2 separate regions of the Homo sapiens genome follow, and region 2 is linked to region 1. Evidence: promoter capture Hi-C in 16 types of primary human blood cells and fetal thymus (Javierre and others, 2016). All regions are on one chromosome and are shown on one strand. The core of a region is centred on a gene start or on the middle of the fragment in contact, and the rest is flanking DNA. Distances in the headings are between cores, read along the strand shown.

What was found. The method cuts DNA at HindIII sites, captures the fragments that hold promoters and counts their contacts. A CHiCAGO score of 5 or more calls a contact.
Region 2: a contact is called between a fragment that was not itself captured here and the fragment with the promoter of IL37 in region 1, in 5 of 17 cell types (M2 macrophages, M0 macrophages, M1 macrophages and 2 more). The highest score is 9.6, in M2 macrophages.

Annotation. Positions count from the first base shown.
Region 1 is chr2:112,909,210-112,913,949 of GRCh38, forward strand. IL37 (interleukin 37) reads left to right here and starts at 1,956. Exons shown (of 6, transcript NM_014439.4): 1 at 1,956-2,039; 2 at 3,754-3,885; 3 at 4,583-4,645. The coding sequence starts at 3,804. The HindIII fragment of the contact is 4,653 bases long and covers 1-4,056 here.
Region 2 is chr2:112,593,274-112,598,013 of GRCh38, forward strand. No RefSeq gene overlaps it. Among named protein-coding and RNA genes, the nearest start is that of CHCHD5, 11 kb to the left of the region's middle. The HindIII fragment of the contact is 7,050 bases long and covers 1-4,740 here.

The sequences.
Region 1 (4,740 bases), core at 706-3,205:
CCTAGTGGAGTAATCAATGATATATGCAAAGATTTGGACAAGCATATTAAGCACAGAATTATGTATGCATATGTGTGTGTATATATATATATATCTCATACATATAATAATGTAAAAGTGAAAATAACTCAGATGTTCAAAATTGAGGATTAGTTAGACTATGATCTGTCCATATGTGACATACAAGTTAGCTGCCCCTTATTCTCTCGAGCTTCAACCTCCTATAAACAGTGTCCCTTGTATATCAGTATTGGTACAGATAATCGAACTTATTGAGGTTTTACATGGGGCAATAAAGGCAAGAGTTTATGAATACTCCATACTACACTAGGTAGCACCCCCTATTAAAGACAAACTCTTCTCTCTCATTTCCCTTCCTTTCCGGAACCACTTGGTTGAATCTCTACAAGTCTCTATTGCAACTGCCTCAACATGGCACCCTCCCTGCATCTCCATCTTCCCTGTCCTGAGAGCAATGGCCTGCTGCCCCCACACTCACATCCTCATTCATTCCAGAAGTGAGCACCACAGAAGTGCCTACAGTTACCCCAACCACCTTCTTAGAAGATAAGTTAGTGTTTGTTTTGACTTTTTAAAATTTTTACTTCCTCTTTTCCTTCACAATCTCATCCCATCCCAAGAGGTTTATCAAGAAGTTCTCTAAAGATATGTGTCTCCTTATGGAATTTAACAGAAATCAGGGATTTGTATTCTAGCCATCAAGGGAATAACATTTTTCCAGGTCTTTAGACAAATAATGGAATACCTTGCAGTAATTAGATACACTATTGTAGAAAAGTATTGATGAAATGGAACGATGTTTGAGATATCATATTGAGTAGAAAAGGCAAGATACATTAAGTAGGAAATGTATCTTACAAAATAATTTGTCAGACACACTCCTATATTTGTATGTTATATAAATGCGTATGTGAAGAAAGGCTAGAGGATGAGACCACAGTCTTCGGTGAAGTTTAAGAGATGAGGCTGCAGCATGCTCAGAAAGGCCTGGGTTATAGTTCTTCCAGTAATTAAGGATGTGATCTTGGGTAAATTGTCCATCCTCTCTAAACTGCACCACCTTTTGTCTGTAAAACAGGAAGGATGGTATTTACCCCCAGGGTCATCAAAGGATTTGGTTGGAGAAAAATAAATAAATGGGCTGAGCCCAGACCTGGCACAGTGAGAGCACAGTGGTTGACTATTGTGCTGGCCTGTTGTTCCTGTGTTATTGACATGCTGCTGGTGGTGGTCCAGAAGCTATTACCTTAATTGGTTATGTGGATTTCCCCTCATACTGAGCAGCTGTGTGTGGTGTTGTAAAACATAGCCATACACAGTAACTGACAAGGGCAAATGTGATGGAAAAATGCAAGGAAGTGCAGATAAATAGCTAATGGGCTGTAGAAGGAAGCTAGTCCTTGGAGGGCTTGATCAAGGAAGGTCCTTTTGCATGTCACCTTTGAAGAAGAGGGGACATAGAAGAGGTATAGTGCATCCCGGAGTGTACCTGGAAGGGAACATGAAAAGAGGACATTTTTCTCTGGGACATGGGGACTCCACTTGCATGAACTCTGGAATTGGGGCAAAGAACCATCATGAGAACAAGGGCTTCCTTGAACCTCCCAGGCTCATTGGCTGATCTAAACCCTGTGTCCCCTCTTTCCTTCACTCTCCTCTGTTTTCTATACCTGTATTATTGGACTGGACTGGAAGCCACCTGATCTATCACAAGTACCTTGAAATGTGTTGAATAGGTGTGGCACAGTCCTTAGCAGAGTGGCACTACCCCCACAGGAATTTGTTTATACCGTTGGCATGGAAAATAGCAGGAAATGAGTGATCACTGATAACTGAGGATGCTATTTATTATTGGCCAAAGGAATACTTGTGTTGTATTTGCATAACCACTCACAAACTGTTGATTACAAATGAGTACCAGACCTAGCTCCTTCAAGTAAAGGATCCTGAGAACTGAAGGCAAACAGAGCTCCAGGAGTCCAAGACAGAGCCACAGACCACGAGGATCCCTGGCCCAGGTAGGTGGTCCTCCTGCACTGGCTTTCAAGGCCAACAGGATGGATGGGGAAGTAGAGTAGCATCTGGCCATCTAGACCCTTGCTTTTTATCCCCACTGGAAGCACATCTGAATTTCTAAATATGATCTCTGAGACCTGCCCAGAACACCTTGCTCTCAGCCCCAGTAGCAGCCTGCTCTCTCCCAGGAGGGCTTCCACTAACAAGTAGGGCATTGCTGGAGGGCCAGGCAGACACTAGCTTAGGAAATCCACCAACCCTGGAAATGCTAGTCCCTTCTCTGAAGGCTCAGAAGACTGACTTTAGAGTCTAGAAAATATTGGTCCTTGGGAACAGATTTTGAGTGCAAAGAGATGGACTTCAGATGGCCAGATGCACTGCTTCTTTAGGGAATTCTGTGAAAGCTCCCTGCATTTATCTTAATACAGGCAGCAGATTTCATGAGTACCCCCGAGGGATGGCCCCAGGTCCTCCAGCCTGTGAGCATCCTTCTGTCCTTCAGCAGCACCACAGTATCTTTATATGTCTTTGGATACCTACGTTTCTGCCAGACATCTCTTGCTCTGATGTTCTGGCTGCCAAATTCTCTGTCAAGCGCCTCCAATTTTTTGTGTCCTTTGATTTACCCCAACATGACAAAGGCAGTTGTGCTTCATGTATTCAGGGATACTGCCAAACCACAAACAGGTTAAAATCAAATAGCAGATATCCCTGTTCCTAAAGACCCATCAGCTCTACCCACCTGCTCCTGCTCACCGTCCTTATTGTTGAGTCCTGAAGCCCTTCCTTGTCATTTTTATTTTTTGCATGAACAATTTAGTTCCCTTTGTCTCACTCCTAAACCTTTCTCAAAGGATTGGATTTGTACACAAACTGCCTATCTCTGCAATCTTAGAAGTGATATGATTCTGAACAAATCACTTAACTTTTGATTTTTTATCGGTAAGATGGGAATACCAATTTTTGCTCCACTTCTGTCCTATGTTGGCCTGGGCTGATGTTGAAAGCTCTCGGTCAACTGAGATAGGGTGTGCAGAATTTATATATATAAATATATCTCCTCCAACCCCTCCCAATGAAGCAAGTCACGTGAGTCAATCCTACCCTAAGATATTAGGGATTGAGCCTCCTGGGACATTTGGTGGCTTAGGTTTTCATGAAAAGAGGTTGCAGAGCAACTGCTTTTTGTTAGGCAAAGATTAGGCTACTGCAGAGACTCAGCAAACTTCTATAGAAGGTGTCAGATGGTAAGTATTTTAGGCTTTGCTTGCCAGATGATCTCTCAACTAGTTAACCATGCTATTGTAGCCTCGAAGCAGCCAGAGACAATATGTAAACAAGAGCATGGCTGTGTTTCAATAAAACTTTATTTAAAAAAACAGTCAGGGACCGGATTTGGCCAAAGGCCATAGTGTGCCAGCCCCAAGACTAGAGCAATGCACTTTTAACTTTTTTATTTTATTTTTGTAAAATGCCAAGATCCACAAAAATGCTATTGCACCCCGTGTGTTAGCACTGTGACTCAAGGTTTGGGAAATTCTGCTTTGAAGGCGTGATAGACAGGAGAGCATGGTCTGGCCCCTTGGTGCCTTTCTGGTTGCAGCGAGCATTTCAAACTACAGAGCAAGGCCAGTGGTCTGTTCAGCACTAGAGACATGCAGCAAGGTGTCCTGGGGTGAGAAGATGCCATAACTGGTCCCCTTTCTATCTCCTTAGGTCTTGGACTTCATTCCATTTTCTGTTGAGTAATAAACTCAACGTTGAAAATGTCCTTTGTGGGGGAGAACTCAGGAGTGAAAATGGGCTCTGAGGACTGGGAAAAAGATGAACCCCAGTGCTGCTTAGAAGGTAAGGTTCTTGTAGAAATCTACCTCAGGGCCAAAGTGTAATTCCTAGAGCAGAACTTTGCTAGGTGCTGTGCACAGACCCAGTTGTTTCCTGCTGACTTGCACAGTAAGTGAGCTTTCAAATTTCCCTGGACAAATAACTAGACAAGAGAAATTCTGGAAGGGAAAAGGAAGCTTTGCTTCAGTGTCCAGGCACATCAGGTAGTAGATAAAAGGATCGTCCTCACCTACAGATTTGGGGCTTTAGCATCCTGTTTGCCAACTGGATGGTTGCATATGCTTCAAAATGCACCTCTTCCCTCCCAACATTCCCAAGTGGAAGAGAAGCCTCCGATGAGAAGCAGCTCTCTAAGGCTGGGCTGAACAAATGACCCAGGCACAGGGCATCTGAGTATTCCATGAGGAACACATTTGGGTGTTGCCCATGGGGGACAATAGGAGGAGGCTTTTGACCCAAATGATTGTCTACTGAGGTGTGACGGGAGAGGCCTGTGACATGCCAGAGGCCAAACCCGTGATCCAGTTCATCTCTATTCTATGTTTCTGAAGAGGGAAGCTATGATTTAATGTCATTACTATCATGCTGCTCTAGTATTTCTCAGCACATACACAGAAGAGGGAATTAAATGGTCTTTGATACCCCTAAATCCTTGGAAAATCCGAATTGCATATGCTAACCTCACTGCGTCTGACTGCAGACCCGGCTGGAAGCCCCCTGGAACCAGGCCCAAGCCTCCCCACCATGAATTTTGTTCACACAAGTAAGGCCTCGGGGTGAGGTGATGGGGGTGGCTGAGGTGCGAGGGTGGGGATGGGGGATGGAGCCATTGGGTCCTCTTACAGGGTGGGAGAATTG
Region 2 (4,740 bases), core at 868-3,367, 320 kb before region 1:
CACGCCCGGCTAATTTTTTGTATTTTTAGTAGAGACGGGGTTTCACCATGTTAGCCAGGATGGTCTCGATCTCCTGACCTCATGATCCACCCGCCTCAGCCTCTCAAAATGCTGGGATTACAGGCGTGAGCCACCGTGTCCGGCTTTCTTTTCTAATACACTTAAATTTGCCACAAAGCGTGACTTTGTTTTTTTTTTTTTCAAGATATATAATTTGACTTGTCCCATAACTGTGAAGAAATAACAAATCATTCTTCAAAATAGAAGATAAAATAACTATAATAACAACAAAAACCCATGAATGCATTGTTGTAACTTAGCCAATAGTCACGTTTCCTTCTTGCCATCTCTGCCTATAGTAGTCCTGCTCCTTGGATGTCTTTGTCTTTCAATCCTCCTTTTGTTCCTTATTTTCCCTTCTCTACTCTCTTTTGATTTCTCCATTGACCTCAGATTGTTTAGAAGTTTAGAGTCGTATTTCTTAATTTCTAAACATAAGGAGGTTTTTTTTTTTTAGGTATCTTGCTTAATTGCAATTGGGTTGGGAACATTTTATATGATTTTAATCTTTTGAAATGTGTCGAGCCTTTATGGCTTGGCATATGCTCAGCTTTTGTTAATGTGCCATATGTGCTTGAATCATAATCCTTGGTTCATGATGCACCGTCTTAGCTCAGGTTCCCCCAGAAACAGACCCTGGGACAGAGAATTAGAGGTTGATCCCAGTAAGCATTACTAGGGCAGTGGGAAGTGAGACAGGGACAGTCGTCTTGAGTACAATTTTCTATACTGTTTTAACAACTGTCAGAATAATTTTTTAATGGCCCTCCACATTTCTACTCTTCTTTCATCTTTACATGGACTCTGCAGGTTTCCTCCTAGCTCTCTGGCTATGCCACCACCTTCTCCCACCCAGCCGTGACATAATGATTTTCTTCAAGGCTTACACCAGGCCTCTTCTTATTCTCTCCTCTGTGCAGTGATCTCCTTCCTAGAGAATATCAGATAAGTCATTGGTTCACAGATGGTTATCTCCAGCCCTGGCTTCTGCCTTGGGCTTCCACCTGCTGCCATGGACCTTCATATAGATGTCTCAAAGGGAGCACTAAGTCCCAATGTGTCCGGAATTGCAGCAGGCATTATTTTCCCCAGCTTGTCATTCTCACCACCATTTCTTTGCACTCTGCCCCTGCAGAAGGTTTGGTATTGTTATTGTTGTTGCTGTTCTTTTTCTTAGAAGGCCTCACTCCATCTTAAGCCTGGATTTACAATTCCCCTTTTCATTTTTTTTTAATTTTTGTTTTATAGTTTGGGTATACAGTTCCCCTTTTGTTCATTTTATTTATTTGTTTGTTTATTTATTTATGAGATGGGGTCTCACTCTGTTGACCAGGCTGGAGTGCAGTGATGTGATCTCGGCTCACTGCCACCTCCACCTCCTGGGCTCAGATGATCCTCCCACCTCAGCCTCCTGAGTAGATGAGACTACAGGCACGCATGCCCAGCTAATTTTTGTCTTTTTAGTAGAGATGGGGTTTCACCATATTGTCCAGGCTGTTCTCTAACTCCTGAGCTCAAGAAATCTGCCTGCCTTGGCCTCCCAAAGTGCTGGGATTACAGGAGTGAACCACCATGCCCAGCCCCTTTTGTTTATTTTAAAGCTGAAATGAGGACTCAGTTAATTTTGTTGTAGTCTTGTCTGGTGAGGGGCGATTCTTCACCCTTGCTGCCGTCCCTCACACTCTTCCTATTTTCTAAATATGCAGTCAGTCATTTAGATCACATCACCTGTATGAATAAAAGCCTTTCATGTCGGCTGCATTCTTCAGGCTTCTAACTTCTTGCAATTCATCAGTTACGTCTAGTTACATCTGTGGATTCCTGCACCATTGCAGATGCAAAGCAGGAGAAAAGAAGGGTTTTCTTTTCATCTTTTTTTTTTTTTTTTTCTGAGACAGAATCACTCTATGGCCCAGGCTGGAGTGCAATGGCATGGTCTTGGCTCACTGCGAGGACCGTCTCCCGGGTTCAAGCATTACTCCTGCCTCAACCTCCTGAGTAGCTGGGATTATAGACATGCACCGCCACACCCAGCTAATTTTTTTGTATTTTTAGTAGAGATGGGGTTTCAATATGTTGGCCAGGCTGGTCTAGAACTCCTAACCTCAAGTGATCTGCCCTCGTCTGCCTCCCAAAGTGCTGGGATTCCAGGCGTGAGCCACCACACCCTGCCTTCATTTTTGTTTTGAAGGAATTACCTCCTACCCCTTAAGTCCTGCAGTCCCTGAACTTGACCTTATCTGCAGCAAAGATGAGAAAGGGGGAAGGTATGATAAAAGGAGAAAACACTTGCCAATGTTTTCTAAATTAACCCCTGACATTAAAATTTAACATTTTCTGCACTTCCTGATCACAGTCCTGTCTTTTACTCAGTTGTGGGCGTGCACTTTTTTTTTTTTTTGAGGTGGAGTCTCATTCTGTTGCCCAGGCTGGAGTGCAGTGGCGCAATCTCAGCTCACTGCAACCTCCACCTCCCGAGTTCAAGCGATTCTCCTGCCTCAGCCTCCTGAGTAGCTAGGACCACAGGCACGCGCCACCACGCCCAGCTAATTTTTGTATTTTTAGTACAGATGGGGTTTCACCATGTTGGCCAGGATGGTCTCAATCTCCTGACCTCGTGATCCACCTGCCTCAGCCTCCCAAAATGTTGGGATTACAGGCGTGAGCCACCGCGCCCAGCCTGGGCATGCATATTTTATGGATCTTAACTCGACTTTTAAATTTTCTTTGAGCATCTGGGAATTTTATGAAAGCACTTTGTTAGTTTCTATTAGTGTCCCCTATATCCAAAATTCTCATTAAAGAATGCCGTTTCCCATCTCTCAAGAATTTATCAATTCAGGCTGGGCATGGTGGCTTACGTCTGCAATCCCAGCACTTTGGGAGGCCAAGGTAGGCTGATTGTTTAAGGTCAGGAGTTCAAGACCAGCTTGGCCAACATGGTGAAACCCCGTCTGTACTAAAAAAACAAAAATTAGCTGGGCATGGTGGCAGGTGCCTGTAATCCCGGCTATGCGGGAGGCTGAGGTAGCAGGATTGCTTGAGCCCAGGAGGCAGAGGTTGCAGTGAGCCGGGATCACGACGCCACTGCACTCCAGCGTGGGCGACAGAGTGAGAGTCTTTTTTTTTTTTTTGAGACTCACACTGTGCACAGGAAGAAAATTATGTGAATGTCCTTCCTAACAGGGAGAGGCCTTCCCTGACCTTGCTCCCCTTGGGCTGCCATCAGCATGGGGCTTTCTTAGGTATCAAGGCCACCTCAGTTTGGAGAGATGCCAGAAGTGGAAGTGTCAGCCAGACCATGTTTTCATTCTACTTGTCTATATTAGATCAAAGTCAGAGAGAGAATCTCAGTTCATAGAGGGAACACTTTATAACCTGTGTTTATGGAGGAGAATCACATACCAAGTGGAATCACCTTGAAGCAAGGCTTGTGTGCCGGGGGCGATGGCTCGTGCCTGTAATCCCAGCACTTTGGGAGGCTGAGGCAAATGGATCACTTGAGGTCAGGAGTTTGAGACCAGCCTGGCCAACATGGTGAAACCCTATCTCTACTAAAAAATACAAAAATTAGCTGGGCATGGTGGTACATGCGTATAATCCCAGCTACTCGGGAGGCTGAGGCAGGAGAATCGCTTGAACCCAGGAGGCAGAGGTTGCATTGAGCCAAGATCATGCCACTGTACTCCAGCCTGGGCTACAGAACGAGACTCCATCTCATAAATAAATAAATAAATAAATAAATAAATAAATAAATGGGATTTCGAGACCAGGCTGTCCAACATGATGACCATGTTTGTATTAACTTAGCTGGGCGTCGTGGCACATGCCTGTGATCCCAGCTACTTGGGAGGCCGAGGCAGGAGAATCACTTGAACCCGGGAGGCAGAGGTTGCAGTGAGCCGAGATCATGCCATTGTACTCTAGCCTGGGTGACAAGAGCGAAACTCTGTCTCAAAAATAATTAAAAAAAAAAAAAGTGGAACCGTTTAGTAGATAATAATCACATAAAGAGTTATCAACTCTTTCCCTGTGTCAATGTTAAACATTCCCACCTCCACCTTCATCACATACTCTGTTGGAGAAGGGTACTTCTCTGACCCATAGCCAGGGCTGGCTGGTGAGACTTGTGTTAGCCAATGAGAGGTGAAAAGATGTGACATATGCCACATCTGGGCGGAAGTTTTAAATGGCATGCATCTTGTAGCTTTGCATTTTGTGTTTCATCTCTACGTTGTGGGAATGGCCTTAGAGGATGATGCTCATTCAGTCCGGGACCAGGAATGAGAATAGAAACTGAGCAGAGCTACAGGTCAACCTCAGTCCTCATTTAAATGATCAAGAACTACATGCTTCTTGTTGTAAGCCACTGAGATACTGTGGTTATTTGTTACAGCAGCAAAACCTCAGTGATACAATAGGAACAGGCAACTCACAAAAGAGGAAAGGAAAAATATGCAGTCTCTCTAACCATTAGAGAAGTGTAGATTCCAGTGAGATTTTTGGTCCTTCAGATTGGCAAAAACTAAAAAGTCTGATAATATCTAATGTTGACAAGAAAATGTAGAACTAGGCTGGGTGCAGTGGCTCATGCCTGTAATCCCATCATGTTGGGAGGCTGAGGTGGGTGGATCGCTTGAAGCCAGGAGTTTGAGACCAGCCTGACCGACATGGAGAAAT